Regions from separate parts of the Homo sapiens genome. Here region 2 is linked to region 1. Evidence: promoter capture Hi-C in human tissues and cell types (Jung and others, 2019). All regions are on one chromosome and are shown on one strand. The core of a region is centred on a gene start or on the middle of the fragment in contact, and the rest is flanking DNA. Distances in the headings are between cores, read along the strand shown. Region 1 holds the start of DGCR6 (DiGeorge syndrome critical region gene 6). Region 2 holds the start of LOC124905081 (endogenous retrovirus group K member 24 Gag polyprotein-like).

Region 1 (7,825 bases), core at 2,638-5,137:
TTCCTGGTGCTTCTGCCGCAGCGCCTGCCTGAGCACTGGGAGGGATGAGAGCCCGTCAGCAGGCGGTGGGACTCGGCAGCAGCCCTCACCCATGGGCACCTGCCTTACCAACCCAGCAGAGCAGCCAGGCCAAAGGGGTGTCTGCACTGGGGAGGACGCCAGCCTCCTCCATCCTCCCACCCCACTGTCACGGCAAGTCTCCAGGGGATTCCAGAAGGTGCGGGGCACTGAAAGAGAGTGGGGGTGGGGAAGACTGGCCAGGTGGGGCCAAAGCTGCAGCCCCAGACCCAGGGCAGCTGGAGGGGGCAGGCGGGAGGGAGGCTGCAGTCTGAGGGCTTCAGGGCCCCCGTGGCCACAGGCCATAGGACATCTACTCAAGTGTTGGAGACCACCTCAGGCAAAGGCATGGGAAAGGAGCAGGAGGAGCCGGGTCGCTGACCCTGAGCGTGGGGCCTCTGCCTACCAGGTGTGTGGTTGGCCCCTCCACCCTTGGTGCTGCCCTTCAGGGTGGGCAGCCCCCTCCCCCATTTGCAGCTCCCAGCCCCTACACAGCACCAGAGGGAGAAGGGTGAGCTGACCTGGGAGGCCCAAGTTTGGGATGAACCTGGGGTGTCATAAGCCTGTGAGGCTCTGGGCCAGGGAGTCTGTGTGGCTTTGAGGGGCTCACCCTCGGCCACCAAGCAAAGCTCCACGGTCCCTGCTAAACTGTGCACAAACACAGATGTGCAAACTCTAGTCTGAAGGGAGTGTACAGAGGAAGCGATCATGGGACATAAACCATCATGGCAAAATGGAACATGGAGCACCCCGCAGCTGGCGCCAGTGCATTAAGTGCCAAATGGCTACAGTTCCCCAGGAAGGAGGGGTCCCTGGCCACAACAAAACGTGAAATCCAACACTCTGTTCCTGGGAAGAGCCCTGATGTTGCAGCTCTTCTCTGGTGGCAAGTCTCCAGGGAACTCCACGGCCCCTGAGGCTCCCCTGCAGGTAGCCTGGCTCCAGCTGTGCCTACAGCCTTCCCCAATCTCCTGTTTCTTGGCATTCTGTACACACCTCGACGATGGTATTTACCAAAAGCCCCCCTCAAGACAGCTCCATAACACAGGGAAGCAGGGAAATGTCATCATCTTCACTCTACTGATCAAACATTGCTACAAGTGCCAGGTCCACTACGAGATTCCACTAGATATGCAACCAAAAGGCAAGAAGAGAGCCACGCCGGCTGCCTGGGCAGAAGGGGCCTGGCCTTAGACACGACCGGGAACACAAAGGAGGCAGGAGCAGCCAGTCACCCCTGCCAAATCAGCAGGAGAAGCAGAAAGTCAACGCAGGCATGCCTGCTGCTGGTGGAACCAGGACCTGGCCCAAACCTTCTGAAGCACAAACAGCATTGGGCCCAGGCAGTTACTGAAACTCCCCATCCTGCTAGAAAGAACTACAACTCTGTGGAAAAATGGCCGATTCCAGGACTGAGACACGGAGAAAACAAGAAAAGATGAGCCTGAACACATACCTGAACCAGAAAGCAAGAAAGTGCTCACAGAATGATGGGGCGGCATCTAAAGGTGCCTGGAGCGCCCCCAACTGGCCACACATGGCACAGTCTGAGCATTAAGGAATAATGAGCCATGCACTTGGGATTAGTAAACTGCATGCATCTTACAGCTCAATAAAATTTTTAAAAAGACAGTCACCCAGACATTTAGGGGAAGAAGTAATGCCAATTCTACACAAACTCTTCTGGAAAACTGAAGAGGAGAGAACACTTCGAAACTCATCCTATAAGGCTGGCAAAAACCCTGATACCCAAACCAGGTATTACATGAAAACTATAGACCACAGTTTATCATGAACATAGACAAAAAAATTCTTAACAAGATTTTAGCAAATCAAATCCAGCATACATAAAAAGGATACTACAGCACGACCCAGTAGGATGGAATTCAAGTGACTGTAATTCACTGTAGTAATAGAAAATGATTCACCACGTGATCATCTCAAGAGCTGCCAAAAAGGAAACTGCCAAAATCCAACATCCATTCTTGATAGAAACACACCAATCCTGGAGCAGATGGACACTGCCTGCCTTCTGGGGAAGGGGGCCTTGCCCCGCTAGGAGGAATTTTTGCCACATTAAACCTGCCTCTAATCAGGCTCCTACCAGGAGTCCAGTGTACAGTAAACCCAGAGAGTGGAGAAGCAGGTTAAATGCACGAGGAAGCATTTCCTCTGATAGATCCAGAGCAGGGCATTCTAATTATAGAATTAGACTCTATAAAAAGTCAATGCCACAATAAATGTTGGGGACTGTTCCAGAAGCAAAGAGACCAAAGTAACCAATTGTAGTACATGAACTTGGACTGGATCCTTACTTATAAAGCAACAATTTGCCACAAGTTAGGTACCATGATGTGGCCATGCACTGAAAGTCAGGAGACACCTGGAACAGTTAATTTCTCAGGGGGCTACCCTCTGCAGCTGTGTAGGAGACCGCTCTTGTTCTAGAGCACTTGCTCCCAATCCAAGGCCAAGGTTGACCCCACCACCCAGGTTGTCTGGAGGCATTCTTGGTTTTCACGACTAGGGAGGGTACCCCTGCCATCCTGCAATGCGCAAGACAGCATCTCACCATAAAGACTTACCCAGCCACAAATGTCAGCATGGCTGGGTTGAAAATCCTGGTCTCCAGGAATGCTGAAGACTCTTGGTGAATTCTATGCTGTCACATGTATGTATTTTGGGATGTCAAGAACTAGAGCAAAATGTTAACTACTGAACTTTCGGTGGAGAGCACAAGCGTATGCACTACACTGTCTTTTCAGTTTTTCCAAATGTTTGAACTTTTAAAATAAGAAGTTTGGGAAAAATAAAACAGCAAAGGTGGAAATCTGATGGTGCAGGGGGACCTGCCCTATATAATTTGCAGGAAAGGGCTCCGAAGCCCAGGAAGCATGCGGCTCAAGTGGGAAGCTCTTCTGGTTTGGGAGGGCGCCACAGGAGACAGTGCTTAGGAATTTGATGTGCAACTAGAATGAGGCCCTGCAGGCCTGAGAGGGAACTGACCCTGAAGGGCGCGCACAGCTGTCAACAGACCTCCAACTACCCAAGGGCGCTGCTCACCTGTCAACAGAACTCCAATTACCGGAGGGCAACGCAGTCAGATCTACCACCAGAGTCAGCCTGCCGGCCAACCAAGCACGGAGGCCTAGGGCCATCAGGCCTGGAAGGGGGTGGGGCACAGGGAAGCCCGAACAGGGAGTTTCTGCTAAGAAGGTGGGTGCTGCGCAACTGAAAACAAAACTCGTTGGACACATTGGTCACCAAAAAGGCGCTGTCTCAGTCTCTGCGCCCTTGATTTTGTTAATCTTAGGGACCTCTTCCGAACACTCCCAAGGAAGGAGCCGAGCTGCACAGATACCAAGAGCTGCCGGGAGGCGCCGACCCCGAGGAGGCGGCACCTCCTCCCGCTGCCCCCGCGCACCTCGATGCTCGTTCTGTAGGCGCAGGCGCTGGTTGTACAGGCTCTTTTCGGTGAGGTGCTGGATCTCCAGTAGCCCCTGCACGATTTCGAACACGGTGCCGTCGAGAAGCGCCAGGGCCAGGTCGCTCAGCGTGGTGTAGGACAAGCGCTGCTGGAATGAGCTGCGGGGTAGAGGAGCGCGGTGAGCCCCGGCGGGACACGATGCGGCCTCGGCAGGCCGCCGCCCGCCCCGCCCGCGTACCTGGGCAACTCCTTCACCAGGCTCTGTAACGCCGACAGCAGCTGGTAGTGTCGCTCCTGCTGCCGGGCACCGTCCGCCACCTCCTCCAAGGCGCCCGCGTAGCGCTCCATGGCGCGGACGCCCGCTAGCCGCCGGCTGCAGCGACGAGCGCCCCCAGCTCACGTCATCCCGACCGCGGCGCGTCCCGCCCCTTTTATGACAGTCCCTAGCGCAGCGCGCCCCGCCCGTCTTAGGACAGTCCCCGATCGCGGCGCGCCTCGCGCCTTCCCCGCCCCACCACGCGCCCCGCCCCTTGCGTCATTCAGAAGGAGACGCGCCCCGTCCCTCCGTGGTGGCTGCAAGGAGGGTTTCGCTCAGCTGAGGCTCATACCTTCCTGCTCCCCGGGCCACTTTAGAGGCGAGACTCCGTCGCCTGGATATCGCAGGACCATGTAGAATCCCACCGGCCCTTGCTGAGTCATTGCGGGCTGAGGTCCGGGCTCCGCGCCGGCGCGCCTGCGAGGTGGACTGTCCCGGTCACCGGCCTTCCCAGAGGGAGGGGTCTCGGGCCAGAGCCCACAGGACCTGGGTCTAAGGCACCATCGCGGCCGAGCAGTGGTGTTGGGGTCTGTCTGCGTCCTCTCTGCCCCCGGAGTGAGACAGACAAGACCACCCTAGAGCCTCTGGGCCAGGAGAGTTGGAACCGGAGTCCCCATCTGGGCCTGCCGTGGTCGCCCCGGGGTGCCCAGCCCCCAGCCGGAACCGCGAGCCCAGACTGCCCTCTCCCCGCTCCCCAGACCAGCTGCTGGGCCGGGGCTGGGGAGCTTCTGGTGGCTGGTGTGGGCGGCAAGCCACCCAGGCGCTGAGGCAAGAGACCGAGGACACGAGCTGTTCCAGTATAATAAAATATAAAACAAGAATAGTTATACCAGATATAGATCTTAGATATGATTATATATGAATATCAATAATCATTAGTTGGTAGCAATTACTCTTTATTCCAGTATTATAATAATCCTCACTCTATAATCATAACCTAGGAAAAACCAGGCCATACAGAGATAGGAGCTAAGGGGACACAGTGAGGGGTGACCAGAAGACAAGAGTGCGAGCCTTCTGTTATGCCCAGACAGGGCCACCAGAAGGGCTCCTTGGTCTAGCGGTGACGCCAGCGTCTGGGAAGATGCCCGTTGCCAGGTGGGCCGTGGTCTAGCGGTAGTGAAAAGTGTCAAGGAACAACACCTGCTACTTAGCAGACCGGGAAAGGGAGGCTCCTTTTCCCCGGGGGAGTTTAGAGAAGACTCCGCTCCTCCACCTCTTGTGGAGGGCCTGACATGAGTCAGGCTTGCCTGCAGTTATCCGGAGGCCTAACCATCTCCCTGTGATGCTGTGCTTCAGTGGTCCCGCTCCTAGTCTGCCTTTATTATGCCTAGTCATCCTGTACACCTGGCTCTGCCTTCTAGCTAGCAGTAGTCAATTAGTGAAAGTACTAAAAGTCTCTGATATGCAGAAATAATGGCATAAGCTATCTTTCTCTCTGTCTCCTCTCCCTCTCTGCCTCGGCTGCCAGGCAGGGAAGGGCCCCCTGTCCAGTGGACACGTGACCCACGTGACCTTGCCTATCATTGGAGATGACTCACACTCTTTACCCTGCCCCTTTTGCTTTGTATCCAATAAATAACAGCGCAGCCAGACATTCGGGGCCACTACCGGTCTCCGCGCTTTGGTGGTAGTGGTCCCCCGGGCCCAGCTGTCTTTTATCTCTTTGTCTTGTGTCTTTATTTCTACACTCTCTCGTTGCGGCACACGGGGAGAGACCCACCGACCATGTGGGGCTGGTCCCTACAGGCTGGGGCTGAACCGGCTAGGAACACGTTTTAATAGGAGGGGTTCGGGTGGAGGAATGGCTCCTGCAAAGGCCCTGCCAGAGTCAGGTCAGGTGGATGGGCGAGAGGACCAGTGTGGCCAGGCTGCGGAAGCCAGCACAGGAGACAAGGGCGGGTGCTGTGCATTACAGAGGCTGCTGGGGGCTTGTCCAAAGAGCAGCAGGGGGCACGGAAGGGCTTGGGGACGCAGACACGATCAGACTTGCATTTCACCAGGCATTCTTTAGCTGCCTGCGGTGCTAAAGAATGGGTGGCTGGGCTGTGTGAGATGACCCTGCTTTGACCAGGTTAGGAATTATGACTGGTTTCCAGAGAGAACATTGGTTAGCAGTTGGCTATGGGGGAGAGGGGGGCATTGAGCCAACTGGGGTCCCCCTGAAGTGCCAGCAAAGTCTCTGGTTTTCTCCAGGATCTGTTTCCTCAGTCCCTGGCAGGATTGGCTCCCCTGCAAGCCATGTCTTTGTGATCCCTTCCAGACAGAAACCAGGAGTGAATAAAGTGAATAATGACAACAAGCGCTCAGGCCACTGCCGTGGAGGGCGGTCCACAACCCAGAGCTGGTCATGCGCCGGGCACCCTGGCCTCCAGGTCCCTCGGAATGGCAGGAGCTGGAGGTGGGATTCGAGATTGTGGGAGCTGAGTCTGTAGTGAGTGACCAGGAGCCAGCTGGGGCTGGGCTTGGTCACTGTCACCTCCCCCGGAGGTGGTGAGTGGGATGAGTAGCTGGGTGAAGATGCCTGCCTGTTTCACCAGTGTCCCTGCCCTCAGTCCCCCAGTCCATGAAGGGTGTCTGTGTGGAGACTGGGAGCATATAGGGCAGCCCCACGTGATGATATGTCTGTGGCCAGCTGGGCAACACTGTCGCCAGCTCCGGGGTCTGCCAGGTCTGCCAGGTGGGGTGGGGGCTGTGAGCCACAGCAGCAGCAGACCAGGCCTGGGTTTGGACACCTGCTCCTCTGCCTTGTCCGGGTGCTGATGCAGGAAGGCCCCTTCTCCAACCCTTGGTGCAACATCTGACCTGAACCAGCTTCCCCAGCCCAGCAGCACTGCTCCCCTAATGTGGATGTCGACCTAAAGAAACAAACTGAACCACAGTTCATATAGAGAGTTTGTCTGGACCAAGGCTGAGAGAGCTGCCCAGGACACACCAAGTTGCCCTGGGAGTACTTCATTCAGCCTTATTACAAGCAAGTTTTTAAAGACTGAAGGGGACAAGGAGTGGGCTGATATGAAGTCAGCAGGAATTCTGACTGCTTTCCAGAGAGAACCTTAGTGACTGGCTATAAGGTGTTGGACTACAGGGGAAGAGTTATGGTGTCCAGCGTCTGGCTTTTTATGTCTACTTGGTGTCAGTCTGGAACCCACAGAGCAATTGGCTTCAAGAGGTCGTTAGCTCAAGTGGGAGTGACATGTGACTGCTGTTTCAGTCCAGTGACTCTCTGGGCCAGATAATTAAAGGGGTCTCGCATTCCTCAGATAAAAAGTTCTTTTCTTTTGCATGGACGTGAGCAGTGGGTCACTCAGGCATGGGGACTCCTGTGGGTCTTCAGGGAGGGGTCTCATCCCCCAGAGCCCTAGGGATGGGTGATATGTGTGTAGGAATGGGGGAGCTGGTGCGCAGACATGTGTGCCCCTTGTGTGCGTGCACATGGTGGACCCCATGGCTCTTTACATCAGGTGGTATCCACTGAAGGCCTTTGCTCTGTGGCCACTGTCCACCTCCACTTAGCTTCCCAAGTCCTCCAGGCTGGCTGGTGACACCTTGGGTTAGTGTGGAGTGACTGGTGTATGTTGGGGAGCTGCAGATCCCCTTTCTCTGACACAGGTGTGTCTGGGCAAACACCAAGTCTGTGGTTTGAAAGGATGGGAGCCTGTGTGTGTGTGTGTGCATGTGCATGTGTGGCAAAAGGCTTTGCTGCATGGCTTTTGTGTGGGTCTGTCTTTGAGTGTCACGTGTGCCTTTCTGTGTTTCTCTGTGAATTTTCGTGTGTCAGGTTGTGAGTCCATTGTGTGGGCAGAGAAACAGCTCTGCCGTGAGACCCTGAGCCATTGCAGGATCCCCATAGGCCACACAGAGGTGCACACAGCACCTGACCTAAGCCTGCTCCTCCCAGAACATCAGGCTGCACCCAGGCCACTGGTCACTTCCTCTGTCTCCCAAGACTGTTCCTCACTGCCTGCCTCACTGGCCCTGGTGAGGGTTCCTCACTGCCCTGCCCCTGGCCCTCACAACAGAGC
Region 2 (7,825 bases), core at 1,410-3,909, 1.0 Mb before region 1:
CTGGAGTACAGTGGTGCGATCTCAGCTCACTGCAAGCTCCGCCTCCCGGGTTCACGCCATTCTCCTGCCTCAGCCTCCCGAGTAGCTGGGACTACAGGCATCTGCCACCACGCCTGGCTAATTTTTTTTGTATTTTTAGTAGAGACGGGATTTCACTGTATTAGCCAGGATGGTCTCAATCTCCTGACCTCATGATCCACCTGCCTTGGCCTCCCAAAGTGCTGGGATTACAGGCATGAGCCACTGCGCCCAGCCGAGTCATTTTTTAATACTACTGCATGTGAGTTAACACAATCATTCCCAAATTGAAGTTTTAGATGGGCCCTCAAAATTTTTAGGATATGGTTTTCCTACAGGTTTATATTGAAAGTATGGGGTATCTCCTATTACTCCTCTTTTTATTTGTCTTAAAGGAGAAAGGGAGAGGCCAGAGACCAAATGTCCCCATTTCCCTATAGCTAATCTCTCTGGAAGACAAGCAGCCCAGACTTGAGCTTCTAGATGGATACAACCAGGTGCATGTCCAAGGCACAGAGGAGGGTATTTATAACCCATAGTAACATTAAATGCAGTGCCTTCTCCTGGCTGAGCGGTGCAACGGTCATCTGTAGTTCCAGGCATCCACACACTATCGTTAGTATAGATTTCTGCAGGAGCATCCATCCAGGTGAGAGGTCGAATAAGTGGAGGAAAAGGCACATAAGCCCAATAAGAATAATTTTGTGTAGCAGGTAAATCAGTTTAAGGGGAAACTGGTGAGACAGAAAGTGTAAGGAAGATAATTATTAAATAAAACCTATTGTAAGTGAGATCCAGTGCTGAAGGAGGAAGAGAAGAACAGAGGGATGTTATTTTCAGGCTAATAGAAATGGTGAGATTTTTAGGTTCGTAAGGAGAAAAAGATAATTAGGAGAAGTGGGATTAGTTAGAGGGGTTTACATTGCCATTAGGGAGGATTGAACCAGACCCATTTTGATTTGGCATGCCAGTTTCTGAGGAGTCGGTACAGATCTCATCAGGTATGAGGGCAGTCTCTGACGCGAACGTCTCTTCCTCGTGGTTTTTATTGTCAGTATTCACACGAAGTTTAAGTCTCCTAGTGGGCACCCAGACGGGATTGACGATCTCCTGGTAAAACACAAGCATACCCTCTTCCCCACGTTATAATTGTTCCAGGTTCCCAGGTATTGGTTTGGGAGTTTTTCCATGACACTGGCTTGCCTTCGTTTAGGGAGAATTTTTTGCCTGTATAATGGCATTTAGCTGCAGTCAGAGTATTGTTTTTAGGAACATTTAGAAAGCTTAAACAATGCTAAATATAATTGGGAGTGGGGAGTAGTTAAATTATGCTTTTAAACCAGCCTTGTCTTCTTTTACAGTAACTTGAAGAGGTTTAGTAATTTTTTCACGTTTTGGACCGAGACCGAGTCTGGAAACAAACCCCATGTTTTCCATTATATGTTGACTGGGAGCACTGTAAAAGTTATGTGGAATATTAATTTCAGCCCCAATTTGTGCCAGCAAATCTCTGCCCCGAAGATTAATGGGGATGGGCATGATATAAGGCTGAATTGTTCCCTTTTGACCATCAGGGCCAGTGCAAGCCAAGATAAATGTGCTCTGGTGAACTTCTTCAGCTTTTCTAACACCTTCTAGTTTCATGTTAGTGGGATGTTTAAGCCAGGAGGAAGGCCATAAATTAGAGGAAATAATAGAAACATCAGCCCCAGTATCAACTAGGCCCTCAACCTTTTTTCCTTGAATGTGTATGGTGCAGGTAGGCCATTGTTTAGAAATTACATTAATCCAATAAGCGGCTTTTTCACCGCTGGAGCCCATCCCAGGGCCCCATGTCTTATCTCCTTTGTTTAAAACAATGTTAGGTAGTAAAAGTAATTGAGCAATTGACTCACTGGCCGGAATGGAAACAGGAACTTTGGCAGACACCATAAGTTTACATAAGTTTAATCTCATCAGAGGAATCAGAATTAATGAGACTAGTATGAACTATGATACCTTTAGTATCATGAGGTGGATGCCCTGCCTAACACCAGGCCCACCGAACCTTGAGGTAAAGGGCCAGTGACCCCCATGGGGACAATTAAAGGCAAAGAATTAGGTAGTAAATTTAGAGGAATGGTACTACAGAGATCGACCGCCCTGCTGCCTACTGTGGAGGTAGACAAGCATTGTACTGAGACAGAAGAAGAGGCTGGGACCCATCTGGATTGGCTGTAGGTAAATTTGTTTGTGCTGGGGGCTGCGTTGGGACTGCTTGACGCAAAAACACAACATTGGTCTGAGTCCGAGGTGTCCCATTTGATATTGGGGCCTGGGACTGGCCTTGCTTCCTGTTTCCCTGGTTCTGTGGCAAGGGATTTTCATCTATATCAGACTGAGTGGCAAGTACTTGCCCAATGTTTACCCTTACGACAACGCAGGCAAACAGTAGCAGGAGCATTTGGCCGTGTTTGTTGAGCCGGCTTGGCCGCTTTTAAGTTTTTAACAGTGTAGTTTTTTTGGGTATGACCAAGTTGGCCACAATTATAGCAGGCTCCAAGAAAAGAATCAGTCGAGCCAGTTTGGTTGCCGTGCTTCATGGCCGGTGCCCACAGAATAGCTCTGTGGGTCTCCGATCCAACGCCTTCACAAGCTTTAATATATGCAGGCAACACCTCATGATCAGGTAAATTTTGACGTAGGATGGAATGCACGGCCATTTTACACTCATGGTTCGCATTTTGAAAAGCTAACATATGAAGAAGAATACCTTGAGTGTGCTCATCAGAGACAGATTTTTCAACAGCATCTTGTAATTTAGCTAAAAAATCAAGATATAATTCATTGTGACCCTGTTTAACAATAGTAAAAGAAACAGAAGCTTGGCCTGGGGTGCGTAATTTATCCCAAGCTCTCATACACACCTTTGTTACTTGTTCCGTGGTGAGAGCATCAAAGCCTAAATGAGCAGTAGTATCAGAGTAATTATCGGAGCCTGTGAGCTGAGCCTGAGTAATTGGAATGCCATCAGCCCGATTTAGCTGAGCCTGCAGGCGGGCCTCCTCTGACCACCAGGTATGGAATTGTAAATGCTGAGATGGAGTTAGAACAGCTTTTGCCAAAAGGTCGCAGTCTATAGGAAGCAAAATGACCTCGGTACAAAGAGTCTGTAATACCGTTTTAACATATGGAGAAGTAGGAACATACTGAGTACAAGCATCCTTGAATTCTTTTAAAAAGGTAAGATTGAGCGGCGTATATCGACACACTTGTACCCCTTGAGCATTAGGAGGTTCCAGCATGACCGAATAAGCCCACGCCTCTAATCTACTTGTTTGTTTTGGCGTAATAAGCATTGCATGAAAGTTTCAAGAGCAGGCACATGAGATAGAGTCGGCATAGAAGTGACAGGAAAAGTATGTATAGATAAGAGAAACTGAGATTGACGGGGTCGGACTGGTATAAGAGTGTGAGAAAGGGGCATTGGGGGAGCAGAAGAGGCAGAAGCATACTGGTGATTACTGGCCCAGTCCTGCACAACCAGAGTGGCAGGGGTGTCCCTGCATGAAGAAGGGTACAGAGAAGCAGGTTGAGTGGATGGCAAAGTGACCGGTTGAGGGACCAAAATGATAGGAGGGTGAGGGGCTGTGGTGGATGGGGGAGGGCCTGCAGAATTACAGGTAAATTGTAGTTTGGATGGCTCCGGAGGCAAAGACTGTAAAGGTTTGGAGAGGGAAGAGTTAGCATAGATATGGTCCTGGGCTGTCTGAGTTGGGGCCGCAGGAGCTACAAGTGTCGGCTCTTCGTGAAAAGAAATAAGATCATCAGGGGGTGATGTTAAGCCAAAGTCACTGGAGTTAGATATTGAATCCTCAGTATCGTCAGGTGGGGGAGGAGTAGGCAAAGGGAGGGGCTGAGCAGATAATGAAGGCCGAGTGGGAGAGGAAAGCTGAGGAAGAGGTAGAGGGTGGCCAGATTCAGAAAACTGTGGTAACTGCAGGGTGTCACGGGATTGGTATGTCATTAGGATGGCACGTACCAAGGCCCAATCACCCCAAACAGTGACAGGAACATAATTTCCTGTTGGGACCAGTTCTCGGAATTTTGCACCAACATGATCCCATAGTTCCACATCTAACGTTCCCTTTTCAGGAAACCAAGGACAGTGTTCTTCCACTGCCCTGAATAGGGTGACCATATTTTCCATGGGAACCCGAACTCCCCCATTTTAACAGGAATTTAATATAGCAGAGATAAGCATAATGTTTAGACTCTGCGTGACCCATAGTTACCCCGGAGAATACACAGACAACTCACCAATCGTTGGGGAGCCAAACAAGCATTTCTGTGGACTGGACCGATGAACATTTCTCCGCACCTACCAAAGGGAATCGGGTTCCCACATGCACTTAGGAAAAAGAAAACCACGTTGGGCGCCAGATATTGGGGGAACCTGCCCCTAATATTTCAACGTACGTTCTTTCTATTTTCTGTAAGTGTCAGCCGGCTGAGAAATGAAGAGAAAGAGTACAAAGAGGAATTTTACAGCTGGGCTGCTGGGGGTGACATCACGTATCGGTAGGACCATGATGCCCACCTGAGCCGCAAAACCAGCAAGTTTTTATTAAGGATTTTAAAAGGGGAGGGGTTGTGCCAATAGGGAGTAGGTCACAAAGATCACATGCTTCAAAGGGCAAAAGGCAGAGCAAAGATCACATGCTTCTGAGGAAACAGGACAAGGGCAAAATCAGAACTCCTGATAAGGGTCTATGTTCAGCTGTGCACATATTGTCTTGATAAACATCTTAAACAACGGAAAACATGGTTTAAGAGCAGAGAACCAGTCTGACCACAAATTTACCAGGACGGAGTTTTTTCCCCACCCTAATAAGCCTGAGGGTACTGCAGGAGACCAGGGCGTATTTCAGTCCTTATCTCAACCGCATAAGACAGACACTCCCAGAGTGGCCGTTTACAGACCTCCCCCCAGGAATGCATTCCTTTTCCAGGGTCTTAATAGTAATATTCCTTGCTAGGAAAAGAATTTAGCGATATCTCTCCTACTTGCACGTCCATTTATAAGCTCTCTGCAAGAAGAAAAATATGGCTCTTTTTGCCTGACCCCACAGGCAGTCAGACCTTATGGTTGTCTTCGTTCCCTAAAAATCACTGTTATTCTGTTCTTTTTCAAGGTGCGCTGATTTCATATTGTTCAAACACACGTTTTACAATCAATTTCTACAGTTAACACAATTATCACAGTGGTCCTGAGGTGATGTATATTATCAGCTTATGAAGATAACAGGATTAAGAGATAAAGACAGGCATAAGAAATTATAAAAGTATTACTTGGGGGCCCAGGCGCGGTGGCTCATGCCTGTAATCCTAGCACTTTGAGAGGCCGAGGCAGCCATATCACAAGGTGAGGAGATCAAGACCATCCTGGCTAACATGGTGAAACCCTGTCTCTCCTGAAAGTACAAAAAATTAGCCAGGTGTGGTGGCGGGTGCCTGTAGTCCCAGCTACTCAGGAGGCTGAGACAGGAGAATGGTGTGAACCCAGGAGGCGGAGCTTGCAGTGAGCTGAGATTGTGCCACTGCACCCCAGCCTGGGCGACAGAGAGAGAATCTGCCTCAAAAAAAAAAAAAAGAAAAAAGTATAAAAGTATTACTTGGGAATTGATAAATGTTCATATTGAAATGAAATCTTCACTATTTATGTTCCTCTGCCACGGCTCCAGCCAGTCCCTCCATTCGGGGTTCCTGACTTCCTGCAACACAGGTGTGAGCCACTGTACCCAGACTAGGGGTGCAGTTTTTTTTTTTTTTTTTTTCTGAGACAGAGTCTCACTCTGTTAACCAGGCTGGAGTGCAGTGGTGCTATCATAGCTCACTGCAGCCTTGAACTCCTGGGTTCAACTCACCCTCCAGCCTCAGCCTCCCTAGTAGCTGGGACTGTGGGCCCTGCAGTTTCTCCTTTTAGAGTAGGAAGACCTGAACTGTCCCAGGCTTGGAGTGGGTGGGCGATGCAGCCCCTGAACAGGAGCCAGAATGACAACACCTGCTGCCAGGAAAGAGCTCTAGATAGAGCAGCCATACAGGAGGGCCCCTGAGGTGGCACCCTGAGGTGGCCAGCCTGCCTGTGGGTGCACATTTTGGGGGACCCTTCCACTTGCCCTCACTGGTGCAGTGCTGCATTCTCTTGGGCCTTGCTATGAGCTCTGGGCTCCTGCTCTTTGCTGGCCTGTACCAGGCAGTGGGTTCAAAGAGGAGCAGAAAATTAATGGACAATATGTCAGAAGGCAGAGGCAAGACAGACACTTGCTGGGGCCAAGCCCTGCAGGTGGAGAGGGTATGCCTGGCTAAAGTGGGTGAAAGGCAAGGTTATGAGGTTCTCCAGGACACTGGAGTGCACAGGTGGTGTGTCCCCAGGTAACGCCTGCCACCCAGCCCTTCCTCCCACAGAACAGCATCTGCCCTACCCACCTTTGAGGTACTTTGGGGTCCTTCCTTCCCAGCAGGCTACCCAAGCCCTTCCAAGTGCTTAAAGGCAGATTTCCTATGCTTGCAAACGACTGCCCTATGCCAGTGTTTATCAGCCCGAGAGGGCTCCTGGGTGTGCACAGGGGGCGAGCAAGCTGCCCAAGATAAGCACATCCATACAGACAGCTGCTCACCCTGCCTGATAGCAGACAGAGGGGGCACAGTGCGAGGCTGCAGGGCAGGATGACCTAACAAGGGCCCTGCTATGGCAACAAGAAGGACAGGCACCTGCCATGGAAGGTAGGGACGTTCTGAGCAAAGCTTCCGGCTACCAGGCAGCTGGAGGAGAGAGATGCTTCTCCATCAGCAGGTTCATGCTCCCCGGGGGACCTGGTGGCATTTTCTCCCTGACCAGCAGTCCTTGGTTCTCTAGACTTATATTAAAGCCATTAGAATAATTTACAACAATTTAGGCCTTTCCAGAGCCCTTGAGTTGAATTAGGAATTGAGTGTGCTTTGGACTGGCTGTTGGAACCGAGTTGTGGCTCTGTCAGTTCCCGCAGGTGCGCACACATCTCACGTGCACTCAGAGGCTGGCTGCCAGGTGAAAGAGTGGGTGGGTTTGGTTGTGGGGCAGGCTCGCTGCAGGCCATGGCCTGAGTGCCTGGATGCAGCTTCCCAAGCTTTCTCAGCTGTGAGCCAGGGCTCCTCTAGGCTCCAGCTCTTGTATCCTTTAGGAGTGCATGTTCTAGACCTGTCTGTGGGGCATCTGCAGGGCCAGGGTGTGGAGAGACATGACACTCCAAGTACACTCTCTGCAGCCTTGCCTGCCTAGGAAGGTGGAGGTGGCTGCAAAGATAAGTGCAGCCTTCTCATGGCAGACGCTAGGCTCTGATGGAGGTGTTGGGCAGGTTGCCCAGCCTTGTATGACAGACCCTGCTCTGATCATGGAACCTCTTGGCCTTGTCTGAAGCAGCGACCGGCTCCAGATGCTCTGGGAGGGTGGTGCTTCTCATCTGGGCAGGCTCGTGTCTGCAGAGGGGCTGAGGGCACTACTTGTTTTATACCCTAGAGTCTTGTCATCAGTCCCCACCCTGCCCTCACCCCAGCAGACTGATGACTTGCTATTATTTCTTCCTTCCTTCAGCAGGGAGTTGGCTGGTGCCTGGTGCTGGGTGTCCCGGACCTCAGGCCCAGTTCAGTGTACTTCCCCTCTCTACTTCCTCCCTCCAGTCCCTTCTCCATCCCTCCCTTTTTTGGCTGCCCCTTGCCTGCCTTCCTCGCCAGTAGCTTGCAGAGTAGACACGATGACACCTTTTGCAGGCTAAAAAGGCTGAGAGTG

The links. The method cuts DNA at HindIII sites, captures the fragments that hold promoters and counts their contacts. A contact is called where the count stands out against the background at its distance.
Region 2: a contact is called between a fragment that was not itself captured here and the fragment with the promoter of DGCR6 in region 1, in 1 of the 25 tissues and cell types used here (dorsolateral prefrontal cortex).

What each region holds. Positions count from the first base shown.
Region 1 is chr22:18,902,382-18,910,206 of GRCh38, reverse strand. It overlaps DGCR6 (DiGeorge syndrome critical region gene 6), which reads right to left and starts at 3,887. Exons shown (of 5, transcript NM_005675.6): 1 at 3,723-3,887; 2 at 3,482-3,642; 3 at 1-35. The coding sequence starts at 3,832. RefSeq lists enhancers at 1-380, 3,344-3,881, 3,882-4,419, 4,420-4,958, 5,076-5,933 and 3 more and a silencer at 5,307-5,490. The HindIII fragment of the contact is 41,571 bases long and covers 1-7,825 here.
Region 2 is chr22:19,932,392-19,940,216 of GRCh38, reverse strand. The region is part of intron 1 of TXNRD2 (thioredoxin reductase 2); the gene reads left to right. It overlaps LOC124905081 (endogenous retrovirus group K member 24 Gag polyprotein-like), which reads right to left and starts at 6,550. Exons shown (of 2, transcript XM_047441689.1): 1 at 6,487-6,550; 2 at 2,228-4,378. The coding sequence starts at 3,356. The coding sequence ends at 2,391. The HindIII fragment of the contact is 4,369 bases long and covers 475-4,843 here.